Regions from separate parts of the Homo sapiens genome. Here regions 1, 3, 4, 5 and 6 are each linked to region 2. The links are contacts of gene promoters, found by promoter capture Hi-C in blood cells and fetal thymus (Javierre and others, 2016). All regions are on one chromosome and are shown on one strand. Each heading gives the region's core, a stretch centred on a gene start or on the middle of the fragment in contact. The rest is flanking DNA. Distances are from core to core; before and after follow the strand shown. Region 1 has its middle 53 kb from the start of LINC01875. Region 2 holds the start of SH3YL1 (SH3 and SYLF domain containing 1). Region 3 has its middle 39 kb from the start of TMEM18-DT. Region 4 overlaps TMEM18 (transmembrane protein 18). Region 5 has its middle 38 kb from the start of LINC01875. Region 6 has its middle 7.6 kb from the start of TMEM18.

Region 1 (3,421 bases), core at 487-2,986, 340 kb after region 2:
ACCACGGCTGTTTTCAAACAACCACAGAAGAAAATAAGTGGGAAACACCGGTTACTTTCTTCAGTTGATAACTCAGCTGACTAAATAGCTCATGTTAAGTCAGTCTTAATGAGGAAATCAGAACATTCAGGGCTTTGGGATTAGAACTACACATCTCTCTGGCAAGCATTCAGAGCTCTTTGGGTCAGACATCAGTGGCTGCAGAAATGTTACCTGAAAAACCCGCAGCCTTTCTGAACGCTTGCGGGAGTTTCCTTGCCTTTCGGGCCACTGTATTGTAGCAGGACAAGCCGCAGACAAAACTCCTCAAACACCGGATTAAAGAAGGAAGAGGTTTTTATTCAGCCAGGAGCATTGGCAGACTTGAGTCTTAAGAGCTGAGCTCCCTGAAAAAGAAATTCTTGGCCTTTTTAAAGGCATACAACTTTAAGGGGTCCACGTGAAAGGGTCGTAGTACATCAAGCAAGCGTGGGAAACGTGACTGGGGGCTACAGGCATCAGCTAACAGAACAGAAAGTTTTACAATGCTTTTTTCATACAGTGTCTGGAATTTACACAAGTAGTTTAGGTCAGGGGTTGATGTTATTATTATCACTTTTTTTAACTCCTAGGGCCGGGTGGTGGTGCCAAGGTTATCTGGCTATTTATCTTACTTTTGTTTTTTTCCAACTTTTTGCTTTTTCTCTCTTCCTGTTTTGTGAACTAGGCAAGGTGGGGGGAAGGAGGGCATCAGGAGGAGTAGTGGTCTCCTTCCTTAGTGTGAGGAAAAACACTCATGACCCTAAGTGTCGCAAACTGCAGAAGAGGCAAGATGGTAGCCTGCCACTCCCTGTCAAATGCTTGTTGCCCTCTTCTGGGCCAGCCTCGTCCACCCAGCCCGCGATGCCCTCTGAGACAGCCCAGCCACCGCACCGCCCGCCCTCGGGTGATTCAGGACTAATCAGAGCATCAGGATGCTGGGCACGCCGTTAGCCGGGGCGATTCAGAGTCATCTGCTGTGGAGTGGGGCTCAGAGTGAGGGATGTGGTCACTCACGCCATGTTGATGATTCAAGCTCTTCTCTGTCAACTCAATGCCTGTGGAGTAGAAGGAAGTACATCTGTTTATCTCTTGGCCAAAAGAGCAAGTTAATACATTTTTTAAAACTTTGACATTTCATCTTAAAGCAACAGTGGGCCTTGTTTAACTAGAATCTCATTTCTGCAGCCTGATTTTGCTGGAGAGACTCCCAACACAGGCAAGCCCCGGGAGGACAGAGATCAGCAGGGGTGCTGGCGCCAGATGCCTTTGTTCCTCAGCCTTCATCCCACTCAGTTACAAAATTACATGAGAGGCTAGATAAGCTTATTCCCTAGCCCTTTTTTAAGGTTCAAATGTTACTACATTTTATAAGAAAATACAGTTTTTGAATCAACCCTCGGAGGCTCCAGCCTTCAGGAGACACTGGTGAGTACCGCCATGCCTCTGGCCTCAAAGCGTGGTTTGCAAACTGGTTTGTTCTTTGCAGGATAAAACCGCACTGGTGGCCACGGGTGCCCTGGTTAGCAGAGTCGATGGGATTTTCTCTGGCTTTCGCCTTGTGGGCATCATTAGCACCCTGGAGTCACTTGCAGGCCTCTGTGCAGATGTCCTGCCGAGGGGCTTCAGGCTGTAAAAGTGAACCAGTGGACACAGGACCTGCCTGGACTCCCAGCCTCACAGAGCAGAACCACAGCCCAGACTGCCCTCTGCCCAATACACACTTGTTTTGGAACTTTAATCCATCAAAGCATCCAAATAAAAAATATGTAGACTCCCCACCCTATCCCATCTGCCTTTGTGTCCTAATTCCCAAATAGACATCCCATCACAGTGGTTTTCTCTGTGACGGGGACTCCTGCATTGGACTCCATCCCTCCCTTGCTGGAAAAGCACAGGTGCTGTGGCGTGAGATCAACCAACTTACTTCAATTTGCTGATCTTGGGGTAATAATTCTAAAATAGGGGAACAATACCCCTGTCAGTGTACTTGGGAGAACCTCCCCATTTCTTGAGGCCCCAGAAATGCAAACACTCCTGTTTTTGTTGTCAACTCTGGTGTCAGAGCTGTTCACGCCATGGGCACTGGTCATCGACTTACCGTGGATAGTCAAGCTTTTAAGTCCCAGGAATAAAGGGTTCCTACTTCTTTAAGCTGTGTTTATTTTACACTGTTGCTGGTATACTCGGTGGGTACTTAGTGAGGATGAGGAAAAAGTGTCAGAGAGTGATTTCCAATAAGATGGAAAATGATCCGCAGTTTCTCCTCCCTTAACCAGCACATGACGTCTGCCCTGTGGCATCAGATAGTGGAGGCAGTGGCGCTCCGTGTGGGGCCTCCTGGCTGAAGGAGGTGACAACAGTTTGTCCTGTCTTCCTAGACGCTGTGTGCACCTCGCCCCGCTGGTGATTTACTTGAGAGGAACCCATGTGTGGGGTAGGGAGTGTTGCCTTTGGCTTCTACCCAGGTCCTGCTGTGGACTCTGCCTCTTACCAGGGGTGACTTGTGTGAGCTGGGACCTCTTCACCCAGAGGAGAGGGAAGAGGGTCCCCCTCACCTGGCGGCTGTGAGGGCCCAGTCCCCCCAGATTCAGGCACTTCACAGTTAACACAGTGAAGATTCAAGATGATAGAGACTTCCATTGGCTCATCGGAGTGCAGCACTCCCAGACATCAGCTCCATTCAGAGACAGCTGCTCCGCTGAGCGCTGCTGTTTGCTGGGGGTCGTGAATACCCTAAATCTCCATAGGTTGCCAGCTTGAGTCAGGAGTAGAGATATTTATGTGCATGAGTAATAAATAGCGACTTTTGTGAAAGTTAAAATGAAAGAAAATGAAACGAAGGAAAAGACAACTTGAATATACAAAGGTCTTCAAACACAGGATTCGCTTTTTCACTTTCAGTCCTTTTTTGTTGGTCACGAGGCCTATGGAGGTATTAACATGTAACTTCGTTCTTCAGGCTCCGCCAGTCCCTCTCTTACCTTGCAGGGGATTTAGGAATTTGCAGGCGGCAAACTTCTAAGAGCTAGAATTCTTGACCCTGCCTGGGAGAATCACGGTGATTCTGCAACTGCAGGCTCCTGCCTTTCAGAGTAGGCATTTTAAATTCTGTCACTGCCACACTTGCAGTGGTGTCGTTTGTCATTTTACCTGATGGAAAAATTATTTGTGTAAAACTGACATAAAGGTTCTGATCTTTCAACACTCACGCTTCCCATGCGGAACAGCGGGGCTCCACTCTGTCCCCAGACTTCAAAAGGGGAGGCAAGAGGTGAGGCCCGGTCTGACTCTCCAGGTGCTCCTGGGGACTGTCCAGAGGCCACTCAGGTCCCAGACGAGCAGCGTCTCACAAGACCAACCTGTCTTGTGGCACAACCTGCCGGCCACAGAGGCCGCTGCC
Region 2 (3,259 bases), core at 659-3,158:
TACTTTTATTAACAAAACTGCATTTTGAACTCCACTGCTTGACAACTATGGCCTTTGTTTCTTAAGTCAATTCTTACCTTTCTGGGGCCTTGGTTTAACTACTTCCTTTGTTTTAAGGACACAAAGCTTGTCAGTTCTCAAAATAAAAACCTGTCTCTCTGGTCAGATCATTAACTCCCTAGTCAAACTTTCAGACTACCGTCTGAACATCAAGTGCTAGCCTGAGCTTGTTTCCAGTCCCCCAACCCCAGGCTGTGGCTGGGGAAGGAAGAGGACAGCGAAAGCTTTCTCTGCTCCCTCGGGAGACAGGAAAGCCCTTTATTTATTCCTGCCCTTCCTCTTCTCCAACTGAAGAGTGTGATCTTGGTACAGAGCAGTTCCACACATGCCACACTGGTCTGATCTTTTAGAGTAAAAAATGGGATCTTCTCAGAGAAAATTTTTTTAAAAACTTCATGTGCTTAGGTCTCAGAGCAGAGAATTTTGTCTTATCATGACGCCACTCACTGGCAAACAAGCTGGCGTGCACAGGGACTTGTGAGGCTCTCAGCAGAGTCAGGGTAGCAGTTATTTCCCTTTGACTGCCTCAACTTCCTATGTTTGTGTTGACATGCCAGATCCTTATTTCTGCGGAATGAGAAATCTCTTGAGAATAAAGTTTTCCTAAACAGAACAAAAGTATCAAATCACTTTTGATGAGCAAACATTATTTTAAACTTTTTTTTAACTTACAAAAGATGAGGGGTAACATTTACTAGTTTTACAGAAATTTTCTTTAAACAGAACATTAGTGAACCAAATAACCAATTCTCCTCAAACATGATAGACAGGATGGAGGTTATCACTTTGATCATTTTAACCTCCAACATAGTAATTTGTAAACATCAGTCGCTGCACAAGTATTTTAATAACAGGCCAGCCCACGGGAGTAAACAGCACCTTAGCCTCGAGACCTGTTCTCTCAACTGTGTGTACAGATTTTCTAAGTCGTTATGAATTCAGATATTCCCTACATCTCAATAAAAACACCTAGGAGAACAAGAAATCAGGACATGCATCTCCTGTAAGCAGAAGAGAAACCGAGCACCTGCTCTCTTGCGGGGGGGCAGCTTCGTGTCACTTTCCAACTCAGCCTCCACAGGAGCATGGGCATATTGGTTCAAATGAAGTGTAAAGGACACATCTCTGTCCACAGTGTAAATCCTATTTCCTTAAGGTGGTCAACCGATTGAGACCAGTTCCACACTTCCTTAAAGAAGGAAAAACTCAGCAGCCAGCGCCAAGGCCCAGCGATCAGAGAGGACCCGTGCTCGCCGCGACCCCGCGCTCGCCCTGTGGCCCCGCGACCCCGGCGCCAGGTGTTGGGGGGACCGGCCCTTCCCTTCCGGGTGTGAGGGGCTGGCCCTTCTCTTCCAGGTTGGGGGGCTGGCAAACTCGAACCTCGCCGGCGCCCTAGCCAAGGCCTCCTCCCCGCGCCTGCCGCGGGTTCCACGCACATTCCAAGCGCGCGCATTCGACCCAAACTTCAGAGACGCTTCTGTGGAACGGAAGGATGGTCGCTGACACCTCGCCGTTCAAATATCAGGAAGTTAAAAATAACACGACCATCGTCATCATTCCAAACTTCGGAATAGCTTTTCTAAAAATGGAAAAGACGGTGGCTAAACTTCAATCAAAATCGCTGTGGTCAAGAAAGTCCTGGAAGCTGCTCTATCTTAACTTTGGGCGGTTTGCGGTTAACAGACGCGCGACCTAGAAACCCCAGAGGCATCGCCGGTTTTCCCGTCCTCCTCCTCCCACCACCGCCCAGCTCTTGAGAGGGGAGGGTGCTGCCGGACAGGTGGGTCCCCGGGTACTCACTGCTGCCCGCCCGGCCGCGGCGCCCCGTCCCGAGGCTGCCCAGGAAGAGGAAGGCGCGCTGCCCCGCCCCGCGGACAAGGAGGCCCCAGCGAGGGCGTACCTGCGGCAGGTGACGAAGGAGGCGGCGCAAAACACCCGCCGTGTACGTTTCGCGGGACAAAAACCACGCGCCCGCCGGGCCGCGCTCAGGCCTTCGCCCTCAGGGACTTCGGAACCGCCCCGTCCTCAAGATCGAAAAGCCCAGAGCCCCGCGGCGGCTCCAAGCACGGTGTTGGGGGTGGGGGTCTCAGGGAGCGCCCAGGCCCAAGGCCGCCCTGGTCCGGCGTGGACCCCGCGGGGCTCAAGGCAGGTTCCCCGCGTGACCCGCCCAGCCCCTCTATGCGAACTCGAACGACAGGCACCACAGCCCGCCACGTGCGCGAGACTCGCGCTGTGCCCCAACCCAGGTGGGCGGCCCGCGGAGCCGCGAGGCCTGAGCCCGCCCTGCAGGTGACCCGCGGCCCTTCCTCCTCCAGGTACCCCTCTCCTGCGGCCCCGTCCCCTATAGGTAACCTTTACCTCCCGCGGCTCCTTCCCCTCCAAGCGACCCGCAGCCCCGCCCCCTCCAGGTGACTCCCCCCCGCCAACCCCCGCCACCACACACACACACCCCCTCGCCTTCCGCGGCCCTACTCCCTCCAGGTGACCCCACCCCCGCAGCTCCTCCTCCTCCGGACAACCTGCAGCCCCGCCCCTGCAGGTGAACGGCGGCCCAGTCCCTGCAGGTGACCCGCGGACCCTCCCCGCCCGTCCTACTACCGTCATAGGACCGCCTCCGCAGGCGCACTGGAGCCGATTGCGCAGGCGTGGCTCTCACACGCGCTGCCCTGTTGGCGTTGGTGCGGGACTGCGCAGGCGCGCGGGGCAAGAGGGTGGCAGTGCGCCTGCGCCGCGTCGGCGTGCGGAACGCCGCGGTGTCTCGGCGCCTCTGCGCGCGGGAAGATGGCGGAACAGGCTACCAAGTCCGTGCTGTTTGTGTGTCTGGGTAAGAGGGCGCCGACTTACTCATGTTCTGACGTCCTCTGGAGAGTTGGATCGGGCTTGTGCGCTGTAGGTTGTGCCGCCGGCCTAGGAACCATGAGGGGGAGGAGGCCAGGGACTGGGAGGCCTAGGGTGTTCTAGGAGTGTGCCGCAGCGCCCCTGTTCCCCATCCGCCCCGTGCACCCGCCCAGCCTGCCCGCTAAACCTGGGTCCCCTCGCGCCTGCCATATATCCGGGGCTCTTGGCATCTGCAGCCACAGCCCCTACAAGCCAAGGTACTTTCTTTGCGACTACTAGAATCCCTCTCGTTCCCCTCCAATGGGCCCAGGTAGGCCTGGAGGTTGTCGGACTGATGTGGTCTCTTAGGGGCCTCCTGAGT
Region 3 (3,426 bases), core at 383-2,882, 370 kb after region 2:
CTCTGTCAGCTCCAGGGACACAGGGACCGTCCCCGGGCCCATCAGCGCAATCGGGAGGGCGTCCGTGTGCCCACAGGCCCAGCTACACCTCCACAAAGCTGGGAAAGACGAACACGGGCCACCCTCAGCCACCTGCCCGGACCGCTGCGAGGCCCACGGGAGGGAAGACGCGCCCTGGCACGCGGTGTGGTAACCGCCCTTGGACGCGGCGGCGCTTTGGGCGGGAAGAACCGCGAATTCCAGAACATTTGGGATCATTTGTTAAAAGAAAAATCCTCGGGCGCCACCTAGCGCTGACATGCTGCCTAACTCTTCTCAGCCCTCATTTTAGAGAACGGAAAATGAAGCCCAAGTTATTGACTATAAAATGGGAAAAAACTAAAACATTGCAATATGCAGATTGCATCACACATATTATCTTAGCAGGTTTTCTTGCACTTGCCTTGCAGATAAATAGGACATATCTAGGTGGTGCTGTGTCCAATAAAATAACACATCTGAACTCAGGTAAGGAAGGGTTCTCTCAACAGGGAGAGGTTCCAGCCAGGAGACCCCGAAGCGTCTCCCACTCAGGAAGACATGTGCTTCTCTGATATGAGAAGGAATGACCACCGCCAGAGCGACGCCCTATGGGGGAGGATGGGCGAGATGGTCAGCGGGAGGGGTCTTAGGCTGGGGTTAGCAGACGCTTGGAGAAGCAGGCCAGGGCTTGCTACTCCCTGTACGGAGCACTGGATGGCTCCGTCACTGTGGGTGTCTCGTCCACCGTGGTCAGTTACTTGTGAGACAAGAACAGGGAATTTGGAAGGTCTGAGCTTGGCCTGCCCGGGTAGAAAGAGGACCCCTGGGTCTCCTCTACGACCTGCGAGGAAGGTGATCTTCGCAGGGAACCATTTCTGGAACGTGGAGGGTGGAGCTTCTTGACCATCCTTTTGCAGGGCCTCGAAACTCAAGTGAAGTTCGGTGTCAGTAGAAACTCTGTGTTGCTTCTACGCATGGCTGGACACATGTGCTTCTAGCCTTGGCCACTTGATTCCTGGTTGTATAGGTTTTATGTGTACAGTCATGCATTGCTTAACGCTGGGGGTACATTCTGAGAAATGCATTGTTAGGCAATTTTGTCATTGTGCAAACATCAAAACATCATAGGGTATATGTGAACAGAGTCTAGAAGTTACAGCCTATGACACACCTCAGCCATAAGGTGTAGCCTCGTGCTCCTAGGCTACGAACCTGTACAGCAGATGGCTGTGCTGGAACTGCAGGGAGCTGTAACACAGTGGAGAGTGTGTATCTAAACATAGCTACACGTAGAAGAGGTGCAGTAAAAATATGGTATAAAAGATAAACATGGTGCACCTGTATAGGGCACTTACCACGAAAGGAGCTTGCAGGATGGAAGTTGTTGCTCTGGGTGTTGGTGAGTGAGTGGTGAGTGTCTGTGAAGGCCTAGACTCTCAGACATTTCTGTCCACTACTGTTGACTTTATATACACTGTACACTTAGGCAACACTCAGTTCATCGCAAATATTTCTCTTTTCTCAATAATAAATTAAGCTTAGCTTAACCTTAATGAAATAACTTTTTACTTTATAAACTTTTAAGTTTTTAATCTTTTTGACTCTTTGTAATAACACTTGGCTTAAAACACAAACACATTGTACAGATGTACAAAAATATTTTCTTTCTTTATATCCTTGTTCTATAAGCTTTTTTAATTTTATTTTTACTTTTACTTTTTTTAACCTTTTTTGTTAAAATCTGAGACACAAACACACACATTAACCTAGGCCTACACAGGGTCAGGATCGTCAACATCACTATCCTAACCCTAACCCTCCACATCTTGTTCCCTGGAAGGTCCTCAGGGGCAGTAACACACATGGCGCTGTCATCTCTAATGCCTTCTTCTGGAATCCTCCCCGAAGGGTCTGCCGCAGACTGTTTGACTGTTAACCAGTTTTTTTTTTTAAGTAGAAGGGGTACATTCTAAAATAATGCTAAAAATATAGTGTAGCAGCAGTCCCCAACCTTCTTGGAACCAGGGACTGGTTTTGTGGAAGACAGTTTTTCCATGGACCAGAGTTGAGGGGAATGGTTTCTGGATAAAACAGTTCCAGCTCAGATCATCAGGCATTAGATTCTCATAAGGAGTGCACAACCTAGATCCCTCTCATGCACTTTTCACAACAGGGCTCTCACTGGATTCTCCTGTGAGAATCCAGTGCCGCTGCTGATCTGACAGGAGGCAGAGCTCAGGCAGTGACACTCACTCACATGCCATTCACCTCCTGCTGTGCCACAGTTCCTAACAGGCCACAGGCTGGTACTGGTTTACGGCCTGGGGATTGGGAACCCCTGTAGAATAATAGATACATGAAAGAGCGACACAGTCATTTATTATTAATCATACTGTACATAGTTGTGTGTGCTACACTTTTATACAACTAGCAGTGCGACAGGTTTGTTTACACCAGCGTCAGCACCCACACGTAAGGAAAGTGTTGTATTGGGACCTTAGCATGGTTACAATGGCTGCATCTGTCCTGGGCAGCAGGGATTTTCAGTATATGCAGCCCATTCTTTACCGAAATGTTATGTGGCCCATGAACACATATGCGTATGTATAGATATGACGAACTGTCAGTAGGTGTGCACAAAATTAGGAACCTCTAATCTCCAGAGAAAACAATCCCTACTTTTGCTCAAAATAAAGAAGCACAGGTTAACTAAGACATTGACTTGATGGGGAAACCCTGGTTGTTCCTCTCAGTCTGGCAGTTCTAGGGTCTTGAATTAATGAGAACATCAACTGTGTGAGTTAACATTGTGAGTACACAGTCCTCAAATGGATGCCAGGAAGAACCCAAGAGCTCTGCCCTCTCTCCAGCATCCCCCGTGACTGTCTCACCCGTGGAGACACCGGGCTTGTATCTTTAATGTCTGCTGTATTAGCTGGAATCATTCCCAAGGTGCTGATTTTGTAGAATACAAACTGTAGAATATTGGCAGTCTCACCTGCAGAGAATCAAACGAGTGAGCCGCCAAGGTGCTGTTGAGGATTGCATGTCTGCACCCACAGCCATGCTTGTGACTGCCAGGGAAGCTGGAGGCCACCAAGCCACAGAAAAACAGTGGAACGGAGCCTTTTGGATCTGCTCACAAAATATGGCAACTCTTAGAAAACAAACAAAACTGTGAGGCACAGTCACATTAACCTGCACCCGTGAGGGCATCTCAGTTCTTTGTCTTAAACGCCCCAGAGGAGATGTAAATGAGGGTAATTGACCAAATCCCAGAACTCTTGGCTGGAACTAGGTGGTTCAAAGACATTTTTGGATGAGGTTCTTAAATTCTAATAAATTACTCTACATTTAGAGGTGCTAGTAACTGGGCCTCATCACAAGAGTGAACCCCAGACCTCG
Region 4 (3,311 bases), core at 352-2,851, 400 kb after region 2:
GAGAGGCAGGCAGCGGTGAAAGCCGCTGAGCGGGAAGCAGGGCCGGGATGTAAGGCAGAAGCCGCAGGGACGTCGGCTGGGCCTCGGTTGAGAGCAGGGGAACGAGGAGCGGGTCTCCCAGTCGGGCTTCTATCTAAGGACAGAGCTGCTGTGCACCGGCTCCCTGAACTGCTCCTGCTCCCTGCAGTGCTCCCACTCCCTGCTGTGCACCCGCTCCCTGCTGTGTACCCACTCCCTGCTGTGTACCCACTCCCTGAAGTGCACCCACTCCGTGCTGTGCACCCGCTCCCTGCTGTGTACCCGCTCTCTGCAGTGCTCCTGCTCCCTGCAGTGCTCCCGCTCCCTGCAGAGCTCCCCCTCCCTGCAGAGCTCCTGCTACCTGCTGTGCACCTGCTCATACAGTTCACCCACTCCCTGCAGTGCTCCCACTCCCTGCTGTGCTCCTGCTACCTGCTGTGCACCTACCTGAAGTGCTCCCACTCCTTTCAGTGCTCCTGCTCCCTGCAGCGCACCTGCTCCTTGTAGTGCTCCCGCTCCCTGCAGTGCACACGCTCCCTGAAGTGCTCCCGCTCCCTGCTGTGCTCCCGCTCCCTGCTGTGCACTCGCTGCCTGCAGTGCTCCCACTACCTGCAGTGCTCTCGCTACCTGCTGTGCACCCGGAGCTGCCGAGGCTGGGCCCTGGATGGTGCAGGTGGGCCTTGGGTGTAGAGTGCAGCCTCGCCCCCATTTCCCGTGGACGTTTCCAGCCGCCCGAGTCTTCTGAGACCACAGATAAGGTCAAGCGAAGGAGGGCGTATCACTTCAGCTTCCAACTTCTACTCTCTACTTAAAAGTAGTTCCTGAGGCCAGCAGCGCGTCAAGGGCCAGGGTGGGGCCCTTCATCCTTTCTCTTCGTGTGTCTGAGCCTCCCAGTGTCCAGCAGGCAGAAGTGGTGAGCTCCTCGGGCCTGCAGCATCTTGTGAGGCTCATCCCTATCATAGCACAGCCCCCACAGAGCAGCCTCTCAGTCCCTCCATTCTCATCATGTTACTTCACTGGATAGGTCTTCTTTAAAAAGCATTCGTGGGCCGGGCACGGGGGCTCACGCTTGTAATCCCAGCACTTTGGGAGGCCGAGATGGGTGGATCACCTGAGGTCAGGAGTTCGAGACCAGCCTGGCCCATATGGTGAAACCCAGACTCTATTAAAAATACTAAAAAATTAGCTGGGCGTGATGGCAGGTGCCTGTAATCCCAGTTACCCGGTAGGCTGAGGCAGTAGAATCGCTGAAACCCAGGAGGTGGAGGTTGTAGTGAGCCGAGATCATGCCACTGCACTCCAGCCAGGGCGACAGAGTGAGACTCCGTCTCAAAAAAAAAAAAAAAAAGCATTCCTGAAACTAGACCATGTAAATGCACTTATTCATTCACATCATCATCTGTGTGGGTGCAGGTGCAGCATGGGTGTTTTCTAATGTAACGGAAAAATGAAATCAGTGATGTCTCCAGGCGCCTACATGTGTGCACGTGTGCACACGTGAGAGTACACTGCTGCATGTATCGTGTGGGTATGTGCATGAGTGTGAGCTTACATGCACAAGTGAGAGTGTATATGTAAACCTGCACTGTGTACGTTGCGTTGTGACATGTGCGCATGTCTCTGTGTGTTCACGTGTGCACGTGTCTCTGTGTTCACATGTGTGCACATGTGACTCTGTGTGTTCACCTGTGTATGTATTTAGGTCTGTTTCTGGACAGTAAAAACTGACTTTACAACTGATTTGGGATGTGGTTAACCTCATTCAAATGAACACAGGAAACCGAAGCCCTGTGCTTCCCGGCTCATTCCCTTCAGCTCCGGGTGACGTTCCTCAATCAAAAATATTAGACTTCTCTTTCTGAATAAGTGACAGAAATTTTCCCCAAGCAGCCAAACAGGGGCCTCTGGCATGGTGCTGTGGTGCCCTCTGGAGGGTTAGTGGAAAAGATGTCTTTCTCAGACAGAACGGGGAACGAACTGGAAAAGCTCTGCAGAGCCAAGGAGGTATGCGGCCCCAGATCCTGACGTTCCCCTTTCACAGCTCAGGAGACCAACCTGTGCAGGATCCACGACTCTGGCCCCACGTCGGGCCGGGCATCTCTTTCACGCAGCAGCTACATGTCACATTTCCTTTTCTCTATTCTGGTCCTGGAGTGAGCAGCACAGGACGCATTCTGTATGCTCCACATCATTCTGGGGATCAGATCAGCACCACCGCATCGCCAGCCCCACCAAAGCCGTTAACAGACGTGCAGTTTAGGGAATCTAACACATATCTTTTGATCCTTACAGTGATCTTATAAATAACTATGTCGAGTATGCCTATATACCTTTCCTGAAGGGAAACTGAAATTCGAGGCCATCATCACCATGTCCAGTGAGAACCAAGGCTCTTATAAAATTGATCATGTTCTGTGGTCATCACAGGAAGTGTTTTCACTCGGAATCTATCGTCAGACATGTCAGTACCTCTCAAGAGTTCTCATGAACACATTTTTACAATGACCACGTATTAATGTGCAGAATTCCACAACAGCTTGCAGCTGTTACCCTGGAAAATCCACTAATTGCATACGTATTTCAATGTGCTGTCGACATAAAGGTGACGCCCTGTAGGATGGGGGTCATAAACCTGCCAGGACAATGGTGAAGACTTGGGAGGGTAAGAAATGAGAAAGCGCTGTGTGCCCTTGAAGCAGCCGGGAAACCCGCATCCACCCAGGCTGCACCTCCACTCCCAGGCTCCGCGCTGCTTCCGGTCTGTTGTTCTGCTCAGGACTGTGATTGCAGCGGGGAAGCCTCTCACTCACCCAAGAGCCCCGTGTGCGGCCTAGGGTTGGTGGGAGACACAAACCCATCCCAGCCCAACCTGAGGTCATCGGTTACAAAGGACAGTGGCAGGGAAGTCAAGGCCCCACAAATGTCCACTCAGTACTTTTCAGAACTTACATGCTTCTAATATGTGCCAGGTATGCTTTGAGAGACTCTTGGATGGACTTTCTTGTATTGTCAATATATAAGCTGTCTGAAATTTATTATTTGATTTGTCACATCAGTAACTTACAGAGAAGAATTTAAAGAGCAAAAAAGCCAACATGAGTAACTTTATTTATAAAGGTGTCACAGTTCTTGGCAAGTAAATCCATTCCTAGGTAAACCATGGCTTCTGGCTTCAAATTCACAATTCCTAAGGTCCCCCTTTTTTTACCTGGATGCTTGAGCAAAAGGATATTCGGTTTGGAGGCTAGAGAAGGAAGCAATGATGCTGCCTGGGTATTTCACAGGCATTTGTA
Region 5 (3,284 bases), core at 19-2,518, 320 kb after region 2:
TGCAGAGGCATCCGGCCTCCATCGTAAGATGCCAGACTCGGGCCATTGATTTGGCAAGAAATTCCCAAGATCTGACCAGAGTGCCTGTGTCTGTGTGGAGAGACCTCTGTGTCCATCTGCAGCCCTCTGTGGAGGGTGTAGTCCGGGCCAGCATGACTCCTGTGAGCCTCGGCCTCCACACTGACAAACAGGAGTGTGGTCTGAGACAAGGTTCCAGATCCCTTCCCTGTCCAGAGCTCCTAAAGCTTCCCCTTCTATTCAGATGTTTCTCTAATTAGAATAAAACTCTATTTTAATTGCATTATATAAGCAGAAAAACCTTGAGAACAGTTAGAAAACATTGATGAAAATGACATAAAGGTGCCCTGGGGCTGTGACGAGAAATTGGCTCATTGTATCTGGAAATGAAAGAAGAACAGGGACATTTAGAAAGGAAAAGTTCTGTCCTTAATTGAAATAAATTCTGTACTGCAAGTAGTATTAGAAGGTAATCATTTACATAAATAATAGTTAATGCTAGCAAACAGTGAAATGTAATTAGGGCAGAGAGACGCTGAGGCTCATTAGAAAGAACAACAACGCTGAGCTGTGAGCCGGAGGAGGCAGCCGGGTTCTGATGGAAGCTGCCTCGACCACCAGAACAACACCGCAAGCGTCCAGCAGCAGTAAGGGGCACAAGCTGCCTCGACCACCAGGCCAATGCCACCAGCGTCCAGCAGCAGCGAGGGGCACAAGCTGCCTCGACCACCAGAACAATGCCGCCAGCGTCCAGCAGCAGTGAGGGGCACAAGCTGCCTCGACCACCAGAACAACGCCGCCAGCGTCCAGCAGCAGTGAGGGGCACAAGCTGCCTCGACCACCAGAACAATGCCGCCAGCGTCCAGCAGCAACGAGGGGCACAAGCTGCCTCGACCACCAGAACAACACCGCAAGCGTCCAGCAGCAGCGAGGGGCACGGAGAGCAGGCAGTGCAGAAGTCAAACCCCTAACAGCCACAGGAAACTCAGGGCAAACGGAAGCGTTTCCATTCTCCAGCCCTTCTTTCAATATTCTTAACATGAGCAATCCATGAGCCCTCATTTTGCAGCCCACAGAACCTCAGCCAGCGTGTGAGGAAGAAGCTCCAGGCGGCGGCAGCCAGCGTGTGAGGAAGAAGCTCCACGCGGCGGCCAGTGTGTGAGGAAGAAGCTCCACGCGGCGGCGGCCAGTGTGTAAGAAAGAAGCTCCACGCAGCGGCCAGCGTGTGAGGAAGAAGCTCCACGCAGCGGCCAGCGTGTGAGGAAGAAGCTCCAGGCGGCGGCGGCCAGCGTGTGAGGAAGAAGCTCCACGCGGCGGCCAGTGTGTGAGAAAAGCTCCACGCAGCGGCCAGCGTGTGAGGAAGAAGCTCCAGGCGGCGGCCGCCAGCGTGTGAGGAAGAAGCTCCACGCGGCGCTTGCTCAGGGAATCCTGCTCCAGGGCGTGCTCACTTGCTGTTATTGTGTTTTATTTTTCCTGAGACTGTAAATGGAGCGGATAGAAGTTCAGAACCATCGGTCCCTCTTCTTCCTGGGTCATCCTGAGCTCGGCAGTGAGAGCACCTACGACTAGGGAGCGGCCGAGCAGAGGGAACAAGGCCGTGCCCGCTAAGGTTCTCCCGGGACGGTGGCGAGCCCACGCTTGCCAGGCATGACGCCTCGACCTCCAGCGTCCAGAGCGTCCCTTCATTGGTTCACAGGAACTTTTCACATGTGTCCGTCCACTTTTCTTAGGAATATTTATTTAGGTGAGGTTATTCATTCTGACACTGGAAGAAAAGTGCAAAACCTCGTGTGGACTTCGTAGGTGGAGCATTTGAGTTATCATCGGAAAACTAGAGCCCGGACTGTATGAGGAAGGTAATTCATGTTTACAACTGATTATTGCTTTGGGTGATTTTCTCTAATGCAATAATAAAAATAGTAGAAAGAAACTTTTCAACTGTGAAACCCAAACTTAATATTACTATATCATTATTATCAGTCTTTAAACACCTATTTCAGACAAGTTTTTTAAAATATAAAGACAAGACCTAATAAGAGGTGTGAGTTTTACAAATATACCAGAAAAGTGTGTGCCTGAATAAGTGTTGACCCCTCAGAGTGACCCCTGCTGGTCGCAGGGAACCTGTTCCCATCACGTCCCCACTCACCCACAAGGCAGCGGCGCCTCCTCGGTGGTCCTGGCGCCCATGACGCGTTGCTGGGAAAATCTCCCACCCGGACGTTAACTGTGGGCTTCACTTACTTTCAGTTCCTGGGGGAAGGCTCGACAGAGCAAGCTTTAGTCCCCCTCAAAAAAGAAATGGTGTAAAATCAGTGAAAGCCGTCTGCTTTTGTGTTTGGCGAGCAGGAAGTCACAGAGGGAGGCCCCGTCTGTGTTAGGTCAGGCTTCATTTCTTCATTTGTTAACAAATCCTTCTTAGTGGCCCCTACAGCCGGTCTTGAAACTGGCCACTGAGATAAGAGGTCGTCTTCCCATCGAGTACTCTGAAAAATGCCCCCTTGGCCTTTAAGATGAGGCATTGAGTATTTGCTCAAAAGATGGTGTTTTCTTCATCATGTCACTTCAGACATACACCTATATATAAATGCATGTGTATATATGTATATATAAAATAGTATTCTCCTAAATTCCAAATCACATTACTTCTGATTAAAGATTATTGGAAGCCACATGCAATTCTAAAGATAAAAATAAGCAGGAGAGAAATTACTACTGACCATAGTGCCTAGTCTAATGAGTAGAGGTAGGTTGTTTATTCAGAGTTATTTAAACAAAACGGAAGCACCATACAGCAGCTTTTCCATGTCTTTCGGGCTTTATCGTGTAAAATGCCCTGGGCTCTGATTTTTAACGTGGTCTGCATCAACTTGTAAGTGTTTTGGTCTACATATGGGTGTGTGGAACAGAAATTCACGTTCTTGAATATTGTTTTAAAAGTAGACATATTACTATTAAGGTTATTCCAATAAAATTCTAGTGTAGTTTGACAGGAAGCCCCGTGTTTGAATGAACGTGGTGGCCATGTGGCTGGGCGGCGTCCTGGCAAAAGCTCCCTGAAGATGCTGACATCTGTTCAGGCCTGGACCCTGGCTGTGGTTCAGAAGTGTATCATTATCAATGCCTCTCTAAGGCAGGGAAAGTAACATCAGCAGGTGACAAGAACCACTGTGCCTATTTCAACAACTTCTGCCACCTGAAGTGAGAGTGGGCTGCTCCACCAGGGCAAGGCAGGCCAGCACCAGGCCCTGTGGGGGCTGATACCT
Region 6 (3,357 bases), core at 557-3,056, 420 kb after region 2:
CTCATTCTTACTGAATTAAAAGACCCAGGCTACCCTGCTGGGTATGGTTTACCTTGTGTTCACTTAGGTGTACCTGCTATTCTCCTGGCATCACAGAGAGACAAAAGTCCCCAGGATGGATGGTACAAGTATGAAACGCCTGCTTGAGATGAGAAGCCAAAATCAGGGGATTATTCCTGAGGCTTTAATATGCAGATTGGTCTTTGGAGTTCATTGATTGTTAGGGCAGTTTCTCTGACATAAAAATTAATCTTCAGAAATTTACACACTCATAGAGAATGAAGCTGGCAGGATTTAGCCTGCCCAGTGTACATTTCTCATTGGTGCAAATTCACATCTTGACATATGTTGATAAGTTTAGGCTGATGTGTCTTGTAATGATGTTGGTATTCAGGGAAGTTTATGCCAATCTTCACGTGAAGTGGTCCTTCCTTAGGAATTGCTGTGGTTCTCTGACTTTCTGCACTACTGTATGACTTCCTGGGCCACCATAATGAGACACTACAGCCTGGGCAGCTTGAACAGCAGAAACTTATTTCTTTACAGTTCTGGAGGCCAAAAGTCTAACATTATTAAGACATTGACAGGTTGGTTCTTTCTGAGGCCTTTCCCTTTGGCTTGCAGACACATCTCCCCATGTGCACACAGGGTCATCCTCCTGTGTGTGTCTTTGTCCTGATCTTCTCTTCTTATAAGGACTCCAGTCAGGTAGGATCGAGGCCCACCCTTATATGCTCATTTAACTCACTTTCCTTTCAAAGGCCTCGTCTCCAATCACTGCAGCCTTCTGAGATGCGGGGTTTGGACCTGACATATAAATTTGGGGACACAAGTTGGCCCACAACACCACCAAGGGTACCACTGAGCACAGACAGAACTTGGTTCTCTTTCCATTTTCTTCTCTCAAATTTTATAAGCTTGTGGAATATCAAAAAGAAAATGGACCTTAGATCAGGGAAGATTTTATGTGAATATGAGTTCTCACTTGGAATGACCTTAGAATACTGTTTTTTGATTATCAAAGCCTCAGCTTGCCTTTGTGAGAATAAGGACAATAATACTTTTCTAATGTGTGGTTTTAAGGATTTGGGATGAAATGCCTTAAATGCCCAGCTCTGTGCCAGGCACATGGCACATGCCTAATAAAGACCAACCATTAGGACTCGAATGTTGTTGCCTCCTCTAAAGATGAAGGTGTTTATCTTGCTGTCCTCAGGGGGTCCTCTTTTTATCTCTTTTCTTTTTAGTTCATGAGACCAACACTGTTTATTTACAAATATTTTCTGCACATGTTGATGTAATGTAAATGGAAAACACAGTGCTGCTTCCTTTATTTTTTGGATGGTGATATGGTTTGGCTTTGTGTTCTCACCCAAATCTCATGTCAAATTGTAATCCCCACATGTCAGGGGAGGAGCCTGGTGGGAAGCGATGTGATCATGGGGGAGGATTTCCTCCATGGTGGTCTCGTGAGCTCTCATGAATTCTGATGGCTTAAAAGTGTGGCACTTCCCACCTCACTCTCTCTCTTTCTCCTGCTGCCATGTAAGTAAGACATACCTTGCTTCCTCTTCACCTTCCACCATGATTGTAAGTTTCCTGAGGTCTCCCTAGCCATGCAGAACTATGAGTCAATTAAACCTCTTTTCTTTATAAATTACCCAGTCTCAGGTAGTTTTTTATATAAAAGAGTGAAAAAAAAAACTAATACAGAAAATTCGTACCAGAAGTGGGGTACTGTTATAGATACCTGAAAACATTGAAGCAGCGTTGGAACTGGGTTACAGGCAGAGGTTTGGAGGGCTCAGAAAAAGACAGATAGATGTGGGAAAGTTTGGAACTTCCCAGAAACTTGTTGAAGATGGTTTTGACCAAAATGCTGATAGTGATATGGACAATGAAGTCCAGGCTGAGGTGATCTCAGATGGAGAAAAGGAACTTACATGGAACTGGAGTAAAGGTCACTCTTGCTATGCTTTAGCAAAGAGACTGGTGACATTTTGCCCCTGCCCTAGAGATCTGTGGAACTTTGAACTTGAGGGAGATGATTTAGGGTATCTGGCAGAAGAGATTTCTAAACAGCAAAGTGTTCAAGATGTGACCTGGATGTTTCTAATGCATATAGTCATATACATTAGAGACAAGAGAACATCTAAAATTGGAACTTATGTTTAAAAGGGAAGCAGAGCATTTGAAAAATTTGCAGCCTGACACTATGTGGTAGAAAAGAAAAACCCATTTTCTGGGGAGAATTTCAAGCTGCCACGTTCAGAAATTTGCATATGTAATGAGGAACCAAAAGTTAACAGTCAAAACAGTGGGGAAAATGTCTCCAGGACCTGTTGGAGACCTTTACAGCAGGCCCTCCCATCACAGGCCCAGAGACCTGGGAGGAAAAAGTGTTTTTGTGGGCCAAGTGCAGGGCACAGATGCTCTGTGCAGCCTCAGGACATGGTGCCCAGTATCCCAGCCACTCCAGCTCCAGCCATGACTAAAAGGGGCCAAGGTACAACTTGGGACATGGCTTCAGAGGGTGCAAGCCCAAGCCTTGGCATCTTCCACATGCTGTAGGGCCTGCCGGTGTGCAGAAGGCAAGAATTGAGGTTTAGGAACCTACTGCTAGATTTCAGAGGATGAATGGAAACACCTGGATGTCCAGGCAGAAGGTTTTCTGCAGGGGTGGGGCCCTCATGGAGAAGCTTTGCTAGGTCAGTGCAGAAGGGAAATGTGCGTTTGGAGCCCCCACACAGAGTCCCTGCCCAGTGGCACTGTGAGAAGAGGGCCACCATAGGTATGGTGGCCACCATCCTCCAGATCCCAGAATGGCAGATCCACTGACAGCTTGCACTGTCAATTAAAGCTGTTTTGTTTTGTTTTTTTTATAAATTACCCAGTCTTGAGCAGTTCTTTATAGCAGCATGAGAGTGCACTGACAGTGCACCTGTAAACACTGCAGGCACTCAGTGCCAGTCCTTGAGAGCAGCTGTGGGGGCTGAACCCTGCAAAACATGAGGTGGAGCTACTCAAGGCCTTGGAAGCCCACCTCTTGTGTCAGCATGCCCTCAATGTGAGACATGGAACCAAACGAGACTATTTTGCAGCTTTAAGATTTAATGACAGCCCTGCTGGATTTTGGACTTGCATGGGGGCCTGTAGCCCCTTCATTTTGGCCAATTTATCCCATTTGGAATGGAAGCCTTTACTTTGCCTGTACCCCCATTGTATCTTGAAAGTAACTAACTTGTTTTTGATTTTATAGGTTCATAGTCAGAAAGGAATTGCCTGGCTTCAGATGAGACTTTGGACTTGGAATTCTGAGTTCATGATGGAATTAGTTAAGATTTTGGGGGACTGTTG

The links. The method cuts DNA at HindIII sites, captures the fragments that hold promoters and counts their contacts. A CHiCAGO score of 5 or more calls a contact.
Region 1: a fragment that was not itself captured here is called in contact with the fragment with the promoter of SH3YL1 in region 2 in 2 of 17 cell types (total CD8 T cells and naive B cells); the score reaches 5.6 in total CD8 T cells.
Region 3: a contact is called between a fragment that was not itself captured here and the fragment with the promoter of SH3YL1 in region 2, in 14 of 17 cell types (total B cells, megakaryocytes, total CD8 T cells and 11 more). The highest score is 18.0, in total B cells.
Region 4: a fragment that was not itself captured here is called in contact with the fragment with the promoter of SH3YL1 in region 2 in 9 of 17 cell types (naive CD8 T cells, megakaryocytes, total CD8 T cells and 6 more); the score reaches 8.8 in naive CD8 T cells.
Region 5: a fragment that was not itself captured here is called in contact with the fragment with the promoter of SH3YL1 in region 2 in 1 of 17 cell types (naive B cells); the score reaches 5.0 in naive B cells.
Region 6: a fragment that was not itself captured here is called in contact with the fragment with the promoter of SH3YL1 in region 2 in 3 of 17 cell types (fetal thymus, naive CD8 T cells and erythroblasts); the score reaches 6.8 in fetal thymus.

The regions. Positions count from the first base shown.
Region 1 is chr2:597,334-600,754 of GRCh38, forward strand. No RefSeq gene overlaps it. Among named protein-coding and RNA genes, the nearest start is that of LINC01875, 53 kb to the left of the region's middle. The HindIII fragment of the contact is 790 bases long and covers 1,342-2,131 here.
Region 2 is chr2:262,124-265,382 of GRCh38, forward strand. SH3YL1 (SH3 and SYLF domain containing 1) reads right to left here and starts at 1,909. Exons shown (of 10, transcript NM_015677.4): 1 at 1,861-1,909. The coding sequence starts at 1,861. ACP1 (acid phosphatase 1) reads left to right here and starts at 2,824. Exons shown (of 6, transcript NM_004300.4): 1 at 2,824-2,884. The coding sequence starts at 2,842. RefSeq lists silencers at 1,805-2,384, 2,455-2,534 and an enhancer at 2,885-2,934. The HindIII fragment of the contact is 12,050 bases long and covers 283-3,259 here.
Region 3 is chr2:636,878-640,303 of GRCh38, forward strand. No RefSeq gene overlaps it. Among named protein-coding and RNA genes, the nearest start is that of TMEM18-DT, 39 kb to the right of the region's middle. The HindIII fragment of the contact is 152 bases long and covers 1,557-1,708 here.
Region 4 is chr2:660,786-664,096 of GRCh38, forward strand. It overlaps TMEM18 (transmembrane protein 18), which reads right to left. Exons shown (of 5, transcript NM_152834.4): 5 at 3,092-3,311. Among named protein-coding and RNA genes, the nearest start is that of TMEM18-DT, 15 kb to the right of the region's middle. RefSeq lists an enhancer at 1-399. The HindIII fragment of the contact is 8,201 bases long and covers 1-3,311 here.
Region 5 is chr2:581,691-584,974 of GRCh38, forward strand. No RefSeq gene overlaps it. Among named protein-coding and RNA genes, the nearest start is that of LINC01875, 38 kb to the left of the region's middle. RefSeq lists an enhancer at 895-2,094. The HindIII fragment of the contact is 2,051 bases long and covers 244-2,294 here.
Region 6 is chr2:683,347-686,703 of GRCh38, forward strand. No RefSeq gene overlaps it. Among named protein-coding and RNA genes, the nearest start is that of TMEM18, 7.6 kb to the left of the region's middle. The HindIII fragment of the contact is 1,782 bases long and covers 916-2,697 here.